Linked DNA regions of Homo sapiens: all the other regions are linked to region 3. Evidence: promoter capture Hi-C in 16 types of primary human blood cells and fetal thymus (Javierre and others, 2016). All regions are on one chromosome and are shown on one strand. The core of a region is centred on a gene start or on the middle of the fragment in contact, and the rest is flanking DNA. Distances in the headings are between cores, read along the strand shown.

Evidence for each region. Contacts are between HindIII fragments. The CHiCAGO score rates a contact against its expected background, and 5 or more counts as called.
Region 1: the fragment with the promoter of SCARF1 here is called in contact with the fragment with the promoter of DPH1 in region 3 in 2 of 17 cell types (fetal thymus and naive CD4 T cells); the score reaches 6.5 in fetal thymus.
Region 2: a contact is called between a fragment that was not itself captured here and the fragment with the promoter of DPH1 in region 3, in 3 of 17 cell types (naive CD4 T cells, endothelial precursors and total CD8 T cells). The highest score is 6.7, in naive CD4 T cells.

The regions. Positions count from the first base shown.
Region 1 is chr17:1,643,846-1,647,887 of GRCh38, forward strand. It overlaps SCARF1 (scavenger receptor class F member 1), which reads right to left and starts at 1,887. Exons shown (of 11, transcript NM_003693.4): 1 at 1,752-1,887; 2 at 1,333-1,394; 3 at 989-1,090; 4 at 1-122. The coding sequence starts at 1,852. It overlaps RILP (Rab interacting lysosomal protein), which reads right to left. Exons shown (of 8, transcript NM_031430.3): 6 at 3,990-4,042; 7 at 3,061-3,144; 8 at 2,305-2,774. The coding sequence ends at 2,597. The HindIII fragment of the contact is 11,256 bases long and covers 1-4,042 here.
Region 2 is chr17:2,293,890-2,297,732 of GRCh38, forward strand. It overlaps SMG6 (SMG6 nonsense mediated mRNA decay factor), which reads right to left. Exons shown (of 19, transcript NM_017575.5): 4 at 3,354-3,464. Among named protein-coding and RNA genes, the nearest start is that of SMG6, 8.0 kb to the right of the region's middle. The HindIII fragment of the contact is 3,042 bases long and covers 730-3,771 here.
Region 3 is chr17:2,027,315-2,031,516 of GRCh38, forward strand. DPH1 (diphthamide biosynthesis 1) reads left to right here and starts at 2,839. Exons shown (of 13, transcript NM_001383.6): 1 at 2,839-2,916. The coding sequence starts at 2,856. RefSeq lists enhancers at 2,587-3,178, 3,179-3,770. The HindIII fragment of the contact is 3,872 bases long and covers 1-3,810 here.

The sequences.
Region 1 (4,042 bases), core at 637-3,136, 380 kb before region 3:
GCAGCGGGCTCCCCAGCGGTCGGCCTGGCACTGGCACGCGCCCGTGGCTGGCTCGCACTGGCCGTGCGGGTGGCAGGGGCAGCTCTCACGGCAGTCGGGGCCCCAGTACTGGCCCGGGCAGCCTGCGGGGGTGGGGACGGGAGGGGTCAGCGGGCTCAGGGCCGCGCGCAGACCCTTACCCTGCGTCCCCTTCCTCAAGGAAAAGGGGCGCTGGGCCCATCCTCCAAGAGCCGGGGACAGACCCTCAGAACATCCGGCAGCCTGTCCTGGGCAACACTCACTTCCTGCTCCGCTCTGACCTACAGAAAACCCTTAGCCATTAGTGGGAGGCTCAGCCTGCCACTTCACATTCCAGAACACACTCAGAGATCCTGAGTGGGCAGGGGACTTGCCCAGAGCGTGGCACCGAGGTTGGTGGGCCTTCCTCCATGCCTGCTCCTCCCTGCCGAGATGGATCTCTGCTGGGCTGGAGGAGAGCTGGCTTTCTCCTGATCTCAGGCCTGGATACTGCCCGCCAGGGTGTCGGGAGAAGCCACCTTTCCCCTAGTGATTCCTTGATTCCTGATGCCCACCCTCTGGCTCTCCTGCTTCCCAACCCCTTTCCCTTCCCTCTCTTTCTGCCAGAGAGGGCAGAGAGCCCAGCCAGGGGCCCCCTTCCATCCACTGCCCATGTATAAGGTATATGTGGGAAAGGCAAGTAATACACTCATTTTACAATGAAGGGGAATCACAGGTTTTCTGAGAAGTGGAAGAGGAAGATGCTCAGGTGGGCAGTGCTTTGTGGATGTGGGTAAAAACCCGGTGACTCAGGTCATCTCCCGGGAGTGTGTGTCACTTCCTGTCTCTGGACCGCAATTCCTCAGTGAAGCTGGGGGGGATTCTGGCCCTGCTGTCCTGAGGCTGCATGGCTACCTGCCTCGCCTGCTCCCACACCACTGCCCCCGTACCCAGCTCTGCCCAGCAACTTCATCTGGCCCTTGAGACTCACGGGAGCTGCAGTGGGCCCCAAAGAATCCAGGCTTGCATCGACAGAGGCCCGGCTTCACACACACCTCGTCTTTCTGGCAGGCGTCCGGCCCCTCACAGATGGCTGAAAGACACCCCACCCAGGTTGGAAAGACGGGAGCAGGACCAGGGGACACCCCTGCCCTCTCACTGGCTCCAGGGGCCATGCCTCCTCAAGAGGTGCCCCTTCAGGCCTGGGGGTGCGTCACAGGAGAAACCCTGACTCCTGGTATCAGGAGGGGCAGGCCCCATGGGGTAGGAAGGAAGGGTTGTCACTGGGCTACGGCCTCCCTTCTCCTTGGCTGAGGGTCTGTCCTGGCTACTCACGGATGGTGCATTCTTGATCCTTCTGCCTCCAGCCTGCGCAGCACTGCAGCTCAGCAGAGGGGCTGTGGGGCAAAAAGGGGTCAGCCGGACATGGTGGGGGGTGCAGCCTGGCCCTGAGGAAGGTGGATCACTGTCTCTGGCTGCAGTGGGGGAGGCTGCCTTAGCCCCCTGGGGAGGCCTAATGGATCTTTACAGCTAGGGTCCCCAGCCCCTCCCCTCTCCTTCCCTGACCCTTCCACCATCTGCCCTGGCTGGCCACTACCTGCCAGACCGCCATCAGCAGTCCCTTCCTTTCAGCCTAAGCCCCCTTCCTAGTCTCCTCCTTCCCCTAACGGCCTCAACACCGGTTCAGCCACCCGCATCAGACTCCCACGAGACCCACCTGCTGGCCACACGCATCAGACTCCCACGAGACCCACCTGCTGGCCACACAGACGTGCTGCCCTTTGGGGTCCAGCTCGGACCCCTGAGTCCCCCGAGTCCAGAGCAGCAGCAGCGGGAGCAGCAGCCCCAGCCCCATGGCAGGCAGCTCGGTGGGAGCGCTCGGGTTCGTCTGGCCCCCACAGCTCCCAACCCCCTCCCTGCTTCCTCTCAGGGCTTTTCCTGAGGAAACCAGGCCGGAGGGGCGGGCTGCCACGAGGCACCTCCCTGAGAGGGAGGGGGTGGCTGGAAAGACTGACACTCAAAAAAAGAAAGGGAAAGAAAGGCAATGGCAGGGCTGACTGGCCTGGGCCTGGAAGGGCCAGAAGAATGAAGTTGCAGGTCCCTGGGTGCCGGGGCCAGGGAAGGGGGTGGACTGAGGCTGGGAGCCACGGCTTTCCATCAGGCCACACTCCCAAAGCAAGGCCTGAGCTGCAAGAAGCCACCCCACCCAGTGACTGAGCAAGGAGACCAGCGAGGACCCCTCAGCCTGCCTCTGCTCCTGGCAGGGTTGGGAGGTGGCACAGACATGGACAGACAGGCGAGGAACAGTTTCTGTGTATTACGGGCAGTTCTTTATTACATGAGCTCAGGCCGTCTGCACAAAGCCCTGGGAGCTAGGCAGTCAGCTCTCATTTCATGGATGGGGAAACTGAGACTCAGAGAGGCACTCTTATATCTGGCCCCAGAGGCTCGGTACAGAGACGTAGAGAGGGAGGCGGGCTGAGACCCCGTCCTGCCCTGATGCAGGCCAGGATTGGGGCAGACCCCTGGCGAGGGCTGTGAAGGCGGGAGCCCTGTCCTCATTTGAGGCCACACATCCTTCCACAGCCAGACCCCTAAGTCAGGCCTCTGGGGCGGCTGAGGCCCCCAGACAAAGGTGTTCGTGGAGGGCAGAACAGGGCGGATCAGGAGCTGGAGACTGTGGTTGGGCCTCCTCTTCTCCCCCTAGCTTGCTGGGTGCAGGGCTGCTGGTCTCATCCTCAGAGGATTCAGCTTTACCCCGATACCATAGGCCAAAGCTGGAGAGAGACAGCCAGAGGCACTTTGAGCCAGGAAGCCAGAGAGGTCAAGGATATGGGTGAGGGCAGGGGATGGTGAGAAAAGGGGAGAGGGGGAAGAAAGGGCAGCCTGAGGGAGTGTGAAGGTGATGGGGGCCAGGGCCAGAGAAGCAGGAGGGGACGGTGTGCTTAGAGCCAAGCACAGCAGGGTGACGGGCAGAGAAGCGGGAAAGGGGATCCTGAGAAGGACCAGCCAGGGCCCTTCCTCCCTCCCCACACTCTTGCCTTTCCCCTTTCCCCAACATACAAACTCTGTATTTTGGACTCCGGGGGTGGGGGATGGTCTCCCTTGTCATCGGAGAGCAGGATCCATGGGCCAGCCTCATCCTCACTGAGACAGAGGAGAGAGGAGAAGTGAGGGCCATTGATCAAGGCCCTGAGGGACAACAGGAATCCAGCAGGGGGGATGGAGGGACTGCAGGGCCCCCGGGGCTGGAGAGAAGGCAACCCTGGGGAGATGCAGGATGTCGAGCCTTTAATTTTTAATTTTTTTTTTTTTGAGACAGGGTCTCACTCTGTCGCCCAGGCTGGAGTGCAGTGGTGCGATCTCAGCTCACTGCAACCTCCGCCTCCCAAGTTCAAGCGATTCTCCTGCCGCAGCCTCCTGAGTAGCTGGGATTATAGGCACATGCCACCATGCCCGGCTAATTTTTGTATTTTTAGTAGAGACGGAGTTTCACCATGTTGGCCACGCTGGTCTCGAACTCCTGACCTCAGGTGATCTACCCACCTTAGCCTCTCAAAGTGCTGGGATTACAGGCGTGAGCCACCGCGCCCTGCCAAGGGTTTATTTTATAGCTTGACACACAGCAGGCCCTGACACAGCCGCGGCTACAGTTTCACCCCCGTAAGAATAAACAGACCCAGCCAAGACAGGAACTTGAAGAATGAATGTGGAGAGGCAGTGTTGTCAGGCAGAATGGATGGCAGGCAAGGCAAGGGGAGTGGTGAGATCCAGGGAGAAGGGCGCAGGCTGGACAGCGGCCATGGGACACAGCCAGAGCAGGTCAGCAGGCCCTAGAAGCGGCCAGGCTAGGGAGGCTCAAGGGGTGACCGGGTTGGGGTGACAGCCTCAGTCTGAGACAATGGGCTCAGAGGGTGACCAGGCTGGGTCATCAGGCTCAGCAGAATGAGGGAGGGAGGCCTGGCTCCGTGGGAATGCAGGCAGGGACCTACCTGCTCTCTGCTTCCTCTGGTGTCCCTAACATCTTGGCCTTGATCTTCTTCCG
Region 2 (3,843 bases), core at 1,001-3,500, 270 kb after region 3:
CGTGCCACACACTGTGCAGGACTATGTGTTTTCTCACTGATTGGCTTGGCATCTGTCACTCAGAAAACAGAGTAAACCAATCCCAAGGCATGTGCCCCCCAAAATATCTCCCTAGGGAACACCACCTCACAGCACACAATATAATTCCACTCCACTCCACACAAAAGAAATTAACATATCACTGAATAAAGAACAAAGCTTCATTGAGAAGAAGATACTGACCCCTCAGGAAGGCACACTCACTAAGCGAAATAGCTACTGCACATTAACCTCCTACCTAGCACATAACTCAAATTTGTACCTCAGCAAAGTTATAATGACTACATATCACATACCCCAAGTCCTAACTGTTCCACAGATTCTATGAATGAACATCCCCAAAGGTGTTAAGAATCCTCTGTATTTAACTGATAAAGCACAAAGAGAACTGATTATGCCTCCATACTACATCCACTTTGTCATGTTGGTAAGAGACAAAAACAAAACAAAACAAAACAAATTCTTTCAAAGGCTCTCCGTCAGCCTCAGCATGAAGTCCTGGACGATTGAGCCTCTGCTTACCTCATCAGCACCATATTCCCGGTCACTTTCTGTACCTCAGTCAGACCAGACTCCAAAGTTCCCCTAACACACCACGGTGTTCTCCACTTCAGGGCCTTTAAGTATATTGTCCTCTTCCCCTAAAATGTTCCTCTCCTTGCATCTACACATACACCTTCACCTGGCTGAAGCTTTCGGCCTTCAGCGTTAGTTTAACTATGATTTTCTCAGTCTCACAGGATTCTTTAAAACTAGGTTAACCCTTTACAGTATACACCCCCAACATCCTTGGCAAAAGTCACTCCATCAGCAATTACTCATCCAAAGTCTGTACTCACCAGCAATCAAACACTAAACTCCAAGAAACAGGAGCACGGTTTTTTTTCAATCTGCACTGAATTGCCTCTGCCTAAAATACCACCAAGCATGTAAGAGGAACTCAATAAACACTTTTTTTTTTTTTTGAGATAGAGTCTCACTTTGTTGCCCAGGCTAGAGTGCAATAACGCAGTCTTAGCTCACTGCAACCACTGCCTTCTGGTTTTTAAGCGATTCTCCTGTCTCAGCCTCCTGAGTAGCTGGGATTACAGGCATGCACCACCACACCCAGCTAATTTTTGTATTTTTAGTAGAGAGGGGGTTTCGCCATGTTGGGCCAGGCTGGTCTCAAACTCCTGACCTCAGGTGATCTGCCTGCCTTGGCCTCCCAAAGGGCTGGGATTAAAGAGTGAGCCACTGCGCCCAGCCAAAAACATCTGTCCATCAGTAAGAAAGTGTGTATGTAGTAGAAGGAGCAAAAAGGCAAGAGGAAGCCTCTGCTCCATAAATCACGCTGCTCTCCCTAATGCATCTCTAACTGCTTCCTAAATATGCTCAACTTTCCAATCTTAAAACAAAAACTGGCCAGGCGTGGTACAGACAAAAAAAACGAAAAACAAAGAACAAAAAACCTTCTCTTAGAACCCTATGTTCTTTTAGCTGTCTTCCCTCCTTGTCTTCGCAGCCAAGATGCTTAAAAGAATGGTCTATATTACTCTCTGGCAATCTCTACTGCTTTATCTCTCTTCACTACAATCCGGCTTCCAGTTTCCCCAACTAAATTAACTCTTGATAAGTTCATCCAATCCAACGGACACTTTTTAGTAATCTTAACATTTGACAGCTCCATTGCACTTGACAATTTTACCTACCCCCACCTTGAAATGTAACCCCCGTTTCTGGCCAGCCTTCCCAGTACCCCAACTTTTGCTTCAACCACCACCTGTATCATGATGACTCATGAATCTATATCACCAGCCCAGCTTTCTCCTGACCTCCAGAGAGACCACAATATTCACTTGTTCACTTTCAAGTTCCTGTAACACACACACCTCCACATCAGCATATCCAAACCTGAACCAATCTCTTTCCTTTGCAGCCACTCCCCTGGACTACCAGCTGGGAGATGATTCAGACTCTTCATGCCTCCAATCTCATCCCTCACACCAAATCAGTCAACAATTCCATTCTATTTCCTTTCTTTCTTTCCAATCTGTCTTCTCTTTCCCATCTCCACGACCTCTATCTTAGTTCAGACCTACAACCTGACTCCTCTATCTCCACTCTTGCCCAGCTCCCATTCAAACTCACCAATTTGCCCAAGTGACTGGTTCTAAGAACAAATCTACCTTATCCATTTACTAAAAAATCAATTAATGGTTCCCCAGTGCTTTCAGAATGAAGTCCAAACTCTTCGGCATAGCATATGAGAGTTTATGACCTAGTCGCTTCCCACTTTGTTAGCTTTTCCACCTACAATAGCCCCCTCCACACTACAAACACCAGCATACTGAAGTTCTTGCACTTTCCCAACAATGCCTGGTTCTCTTTTGCTGGACCCTCTATCTAAACTGCCCCTCCCACCTTCAAACTCCTAGTCATGTTTCAAAACTCAGCTTGACAATCTCCAAGAAGCCTTCCTTGGCCCCACCAGGCTACGTTAGATTCACTTCTCCCTATGGCCCTTCAACACTCTATATCAGGGGTCCCCAGCCCCCAGGCCGCGGACTGGTACCAGTCTCTGGTCTGAGCGGTGGGCAGGCAAGCATCACCACCTGAACCCTAACTCCTGTCAGATCAGCAGCGGTATTAGTTCTCACAGGTGCGCAAACCCTATTGTGAACTAAGCATGCGAGGGACCTAGGCTATGCACTCCTCATGAGAATCTAATGCCCCAACATCTCCGTCCATGGAAAAACTGTCTTCCATGAAACTAGTCCCCGGTGCCAAAAAGGCTAGGGACTGGCCAGGCCCGGTGGCTCATGCCTGCAATCCCAGCACTTTGGGAGGCTGAGGCGGGTGGCTCACCGAAGGTCAGAAGTTCGAGACCAGCCTGGGCAACATGATGAAACCCCCGTCTCTACAAAACATAGAAAAATTAGCCAGGCTTGGTGGTGGGCACCTGTAACGCCAGCTACTCGGGAGACTGACAGAGGAGAATCCCTTAAACCTGGGAGGCAGAGGTTGAAGGTTACAGTGAGCCAAGATCAAACCACTGCACTCCAGCCTGGGTGACATGAATGAAACTCCTTCTCAAAAAATGAAAAAAAAAAAAAAAAGAAAGAAAGAAAGAAAAAAGGCTGGGGAGCACTGCTATATACCACTACCATAGTACATATGACATTACAATTGTTGGTTTAATCTATCTGTCCCTGCACTGAACTGTATCATTATTTTATCCTCAACACCCAGTACAGTGTCTAGCACATACCTAACACTAGATAAACGCTTACGAAATGAATGAAAATTTAAGATACATAAAGAAGGTAGCTTACTGTCTTGCGTAATGGCTTGCTGCGAATGGCAAGACCATCCATGTAGTCTTCCAGTTTGAACTTGTAAGTAACCTGCAGCTTCTGAAGCAAACTATCAAAGAAGTCACTACCCTATAAAAAGAAAAAAAGAAATGACTGAATCAATCTATTCTAATCCAACCTATCCACCAAAAACCGGGGCAGACAACCCTTTCACAGTTCTGCTGATGTTCAGACATCCTATGAAAAGGGAGGCACGCACAATATTCACTGGCCACCAATTTGAGAACAAGGCAAATTCACAGTCAAAGCCTCCATGGTTTTAAAGATATGAACACATGAACACACACACACACACACACACACGCTCTCTCCACACAAACACAAACACATACATACACATTCTCATTCTCTCTCTTTTAGGCCAAGGCATTCAGAAAGCTTTCAACCTCAAAACTCCAATTGCCAGTAATTTATGGTCCCAAGGAAGCAACTGGTGTAGGGAAGGCTC
Region 3 (4,202 bases), core at 1,589-4,088:
TCACAAAGACTGCGAAAGGGCTCTGCTAGCTCTGCCAGGGGCTACCAGATAATCAGGAAACAGTCACAGAAGAGGTGCCCTTGGAGTTAGGTCTTGAAGGCTGAGTTCACCACACTAAGAAGGGGGAAGGGCATTCCACGTAGATGCTTGAAGGTGAGAAGTAACCTTGTTCTGAAGATAGATAAGATTGGTCCTTCCTGAGGACCATGGGCTCACACCTATAATCTCACCACTTTGGAAGGCTGGGGTGGGAGGATTGCTTGAGGCCAGGAGTTTGAGACCAGCCTGGGCAACAGTGTGAGACTCCATCTCTATTTCAAAAAAATGTTTAAAGATAAAAAAAGATGGATGGCTGCTACTCTGGGCACACTGCCCATGGCCACAGGAGCAGTTAAACACGAACAAAAAAAGATTGGTCCCTCTTGGCGTAGAACAGAAGGTGAGGTATTCCTTCTCTTAGCCACCAGCTACAAGGCAGTGCTCACCCCACTGCCTGCCTTAGCCCTGACACTGGGAGCCTGAGAGGTCCTCTGTAAGTACACCGAGGCCCAGAGAGGATGAACAACTTGCTCAACGTCACATCACAGATCAGCGATAAAGTGTGGGCCTGACTCAGGGCCTGAATGTGGGATAATCCTCCTTCCACCTCTCCAAGCCGCCTCCCCATGACCCCCTAGCCCACAAACTCTAGCGTCTTAGGAAAAGTTGGCTGGGGCTGGGCGTGAGTGTGAGAAGCAGAGTTATTTCAGGCCTCAGGAGGGTTGGGTGCTGCCTTGGAGTCCAGCCAGGGAGTGGGGGCGAGTGAAGGCGGGTGTTGTGGTGTACTGTGGGGGTGCACTGTGCCCGCCTTCTTGTCAGGCAGTAATTACTCAGACTGCTGAGTAACTCAGGCAGGGAGACCCCCACAGACAGATGGAGGTGCCCTCAGCCCAAGCTGAATGGCAGCCCCCAATGTCCTGCACCACGGAGTCTTGGGGAAGCATTCTCACATCTGTTCTTCATGTCCAGTTCTCCTAGGCATCATCCGGCTTCCTAATGGGGGCCAGAGCAGCTCATTAGGCACAGCGGGTGCGGGGCAATGTTACTAGAGGGATGGGACTTTTGCCATCAAACAGGCCCCACCTCTGATGAGGGAAAGGTCCCAAGGGATATGGCGCCTGCTAGGGAGAAGCCATTGCTCAGTTGGAGCCAGTCCTTTCCCCTTGAAACTCCATGCTGCAGTCACAGCTAAGGCTGTCCACAGGCTGGGCAGCAGTGTCCTGAGAGAGGAGGGGCTGAGCTCCCAGAATTCAGATCTTGCACCCTGGGGATCCAGAGAAGCTGGGGGGAGATGGGAAGGTCTAGTCCGGACGCTTATCGAGTTGAGGGGAGTGTTCCTGGGACCCACATTGGTCACTTTTCTGTCTAGAGCTACCTGTCCTAAGAGTGCCGGTGGCCTGGGGGGCACAGCACTGACCCTTGGTGATGGTCCCTCAGCTGCTCACTCCCTGCCTGTCCAGCCATTCCTCCTCTCTGGGCAGCCTCCCAGGCAGGGCCTGTCTCTGGCTGCTTGTTTTTACTTCTCCCTGCACCTTAATTAGGGGTTTCCAAGCAGGGAGGGCCTCTGGGGGAGCCCGAGGACACAGAGCTGACTTAAAGGGCCAGCTGTGATCACAGCACCACCGCAGAGAGAGGAGGAGGATGCCAGGGGGCTGGGTAGACCGTCAGACCTGGAAGACCATTGTTCCACGGGACAGACTGCTGAGGGCCAGTCCTGCAGGTACTTTGCTCTTCCACAGGTCAAAGCCGTCTCACTGGCTGTCTTCTCTTTGGGGTCTCTGGGGCTCTGGCCAGTGATCAGGAGAAAGACCAGCCCTGAGGGGCAGGGCAAAGGTTGGCCAGGGTCCAGAAGGGTTAGACATCACAGTCCTCCACTGCCCACCTTCCCAGGAAAGCACCCTCAGGCTGTGGGCCTTCCCCAGAGGGGCAGTTTCTACAGGGTCTACGCAGTGGATTCTAAAGGTGATAAAGGCTGGGTGCAGTGGCTCGCGCCTGTAATCCCAGCACTTTGGGAGGCCAAAGTGGGAGGATTGCTTGAGTCCAGAGGTTCAAGACCAGCCTGAGCAAAATAGTGAAACCTTATCTCTACTAAAAAAAAAAAAAAAAAAAAAAAAAAAAATTAGCTGAACGTACGCCTGTGGTCCCGGGTACTCAGGGGGCTGAGGCAGGAAGATGAATTGAGCCCAGAAGGTTGAGACTGCTGTGAACCATGATCGCACCACTGCACTCCAGCCTGGGCGACAGACCAAGACCCTGTCTCAAAAAAAATAATTTAAAAAGCTGATAAGGGCGATCCACAAACCTGCACCAAGACTCTCAACTTGGAGCTGGGCTGGTGGTCCCTGAGTTCTGTCCTGCCGGACAGTAGAGTCCCCCTAGGTAGGGAACGTGGCCCCACACGGCGGCCGGGTGACCGACCACTGCTTACCAGGAGGGGAGACTGGCAGGGGGGGCTCAAGGAACATCTGGTGGGTGTCCCCTTCACAAGACTCGGCCTGCAGAGTTCGTGCAGGGAGTTCGCACATAGGAGAGCACCGGTCCGGGAGTGCCAGGCTCGTGCCCGGCCGGGGAGAGGAGTGGGAGACTAAGTCGCAGGGCAAGGGCAACTGCATAGTCGGGGACCTCTAGGGAATCCTGAGTCCCGGCATTCTGGGCTGGGGTGGAGCCCACTACAGCCCCGCCCCTATCTCCTCCTTTATGGCCCCGCCCAGCGGGTATCCCCCGCCCCCGCTGGCCGATCGGCGATCGATCGCAATGTCTGCGCTCTCCGCGTTCTTCCAGCGCTGTCTTTTTAGTACCACATGCGCAGGCAGGTGATGGCGGCGCTGGTCGTATCCGGGGCAGCGGAGCAGGGCGGCCGAGACGGCCCTGGCAGAGGTGGGTGCTGGAACGCTGCGCCCTCCAGACCTCGCATCTCGGGGCGGGGCCCCCAAGTTAGGGACAGGACCAACCCCCTTTAACGGCGGCGGCGCCTTTCTCCGCTAGATCCCGCTGTTAGTCGCCTTGGGCCGCTGTCACCAGCTCGGGGTCGCTGTCAGCCGGAGCCCAGGGGTACCAGTCTTTTGCAGCTTTAGGGCACGACCGAGAGCAGCCCTTAATCCTCCAATCGGAAACTACAGCCTTGTCTTGGCGGGTAGACGGATAAAATGGACTCGACGGGGAGGGAAAGGGCCAGGCCAGATGCAGCGGGCATTTTACGAGTGCGCCCTCAGGGAATGCTTTCAGGGAAGAGGCAAAAGGTTTCATTCGCCAGGCATTAACTGAGCGCCCACCGAATGCCAGGCCTGCGCTGGGTGCAGGTACTAGAATCAGAGATCTCAGTCTACTGGGGGAATGTTAATGTAAACATATCATAGCCACGTGATAAAGGAGGAGGTGCCTACTGGTCCCTGGGACACATTGAAGGGCTAATGTTAGCAGTTCCTTACACGCCAGCGACCACTAGGGACCTGTCAGAGGAGGATCTGTAATGGGCCTAGGAAGCCTAGGCTGATTGTCCAAGGCTTTTGAAACAACTGGCCAAAAACCATAGCAGTGGTAACGTTCAAATCTGATCTCAGGGCCCCAGCCTCCGCTGGACCATCCCCACCGCCGCCCACACAGTGGGTGAAGCCTCATGTCTGGGCGGGTCCCTCCTATCATAGTGTGGGGCCCTAGCAGAAGTTGTGGCACATAGCACAGTCTCAATACATATTCGTTGAATAAGTTAATTTCTTGCCTTTTCATATCCTCAGACTCTGTGGCTCCTGAAGAGATAACGGGGTTGAACTAAGCTTAATTGTCGGGGCAGGGCATAGTGGCTTACACCTTTAGTCTGAGCACTTTGGGAGGCTAAGGAGGATTGTGTGAGCCCAGGAATTCCACACCAGTCTGGGAAACATAGGGGGACCCTGTATGCACAAAAAAATAAAAAATAGCCGTGCGTGGCCGGGCACGGTGGCTTACACCTGTAATCCCAGCACTCTGGGAGGCTGAGGCGGGCGGATTACCTGAGGTCAGGAGTTTGAGACCAGCCTGGCCAACATGGTGGAAACCCTGTCTCTACTAAAAATACAAAAATTAGCCGCGTGTGGTAGCACACGCCTGTAATCCCAGCTACTCGGGAGGCTGAGGCAGGAGAATTGCTTGAGTCCGAGAGGCTGAGGTTGCAGTGAGCCGAGATT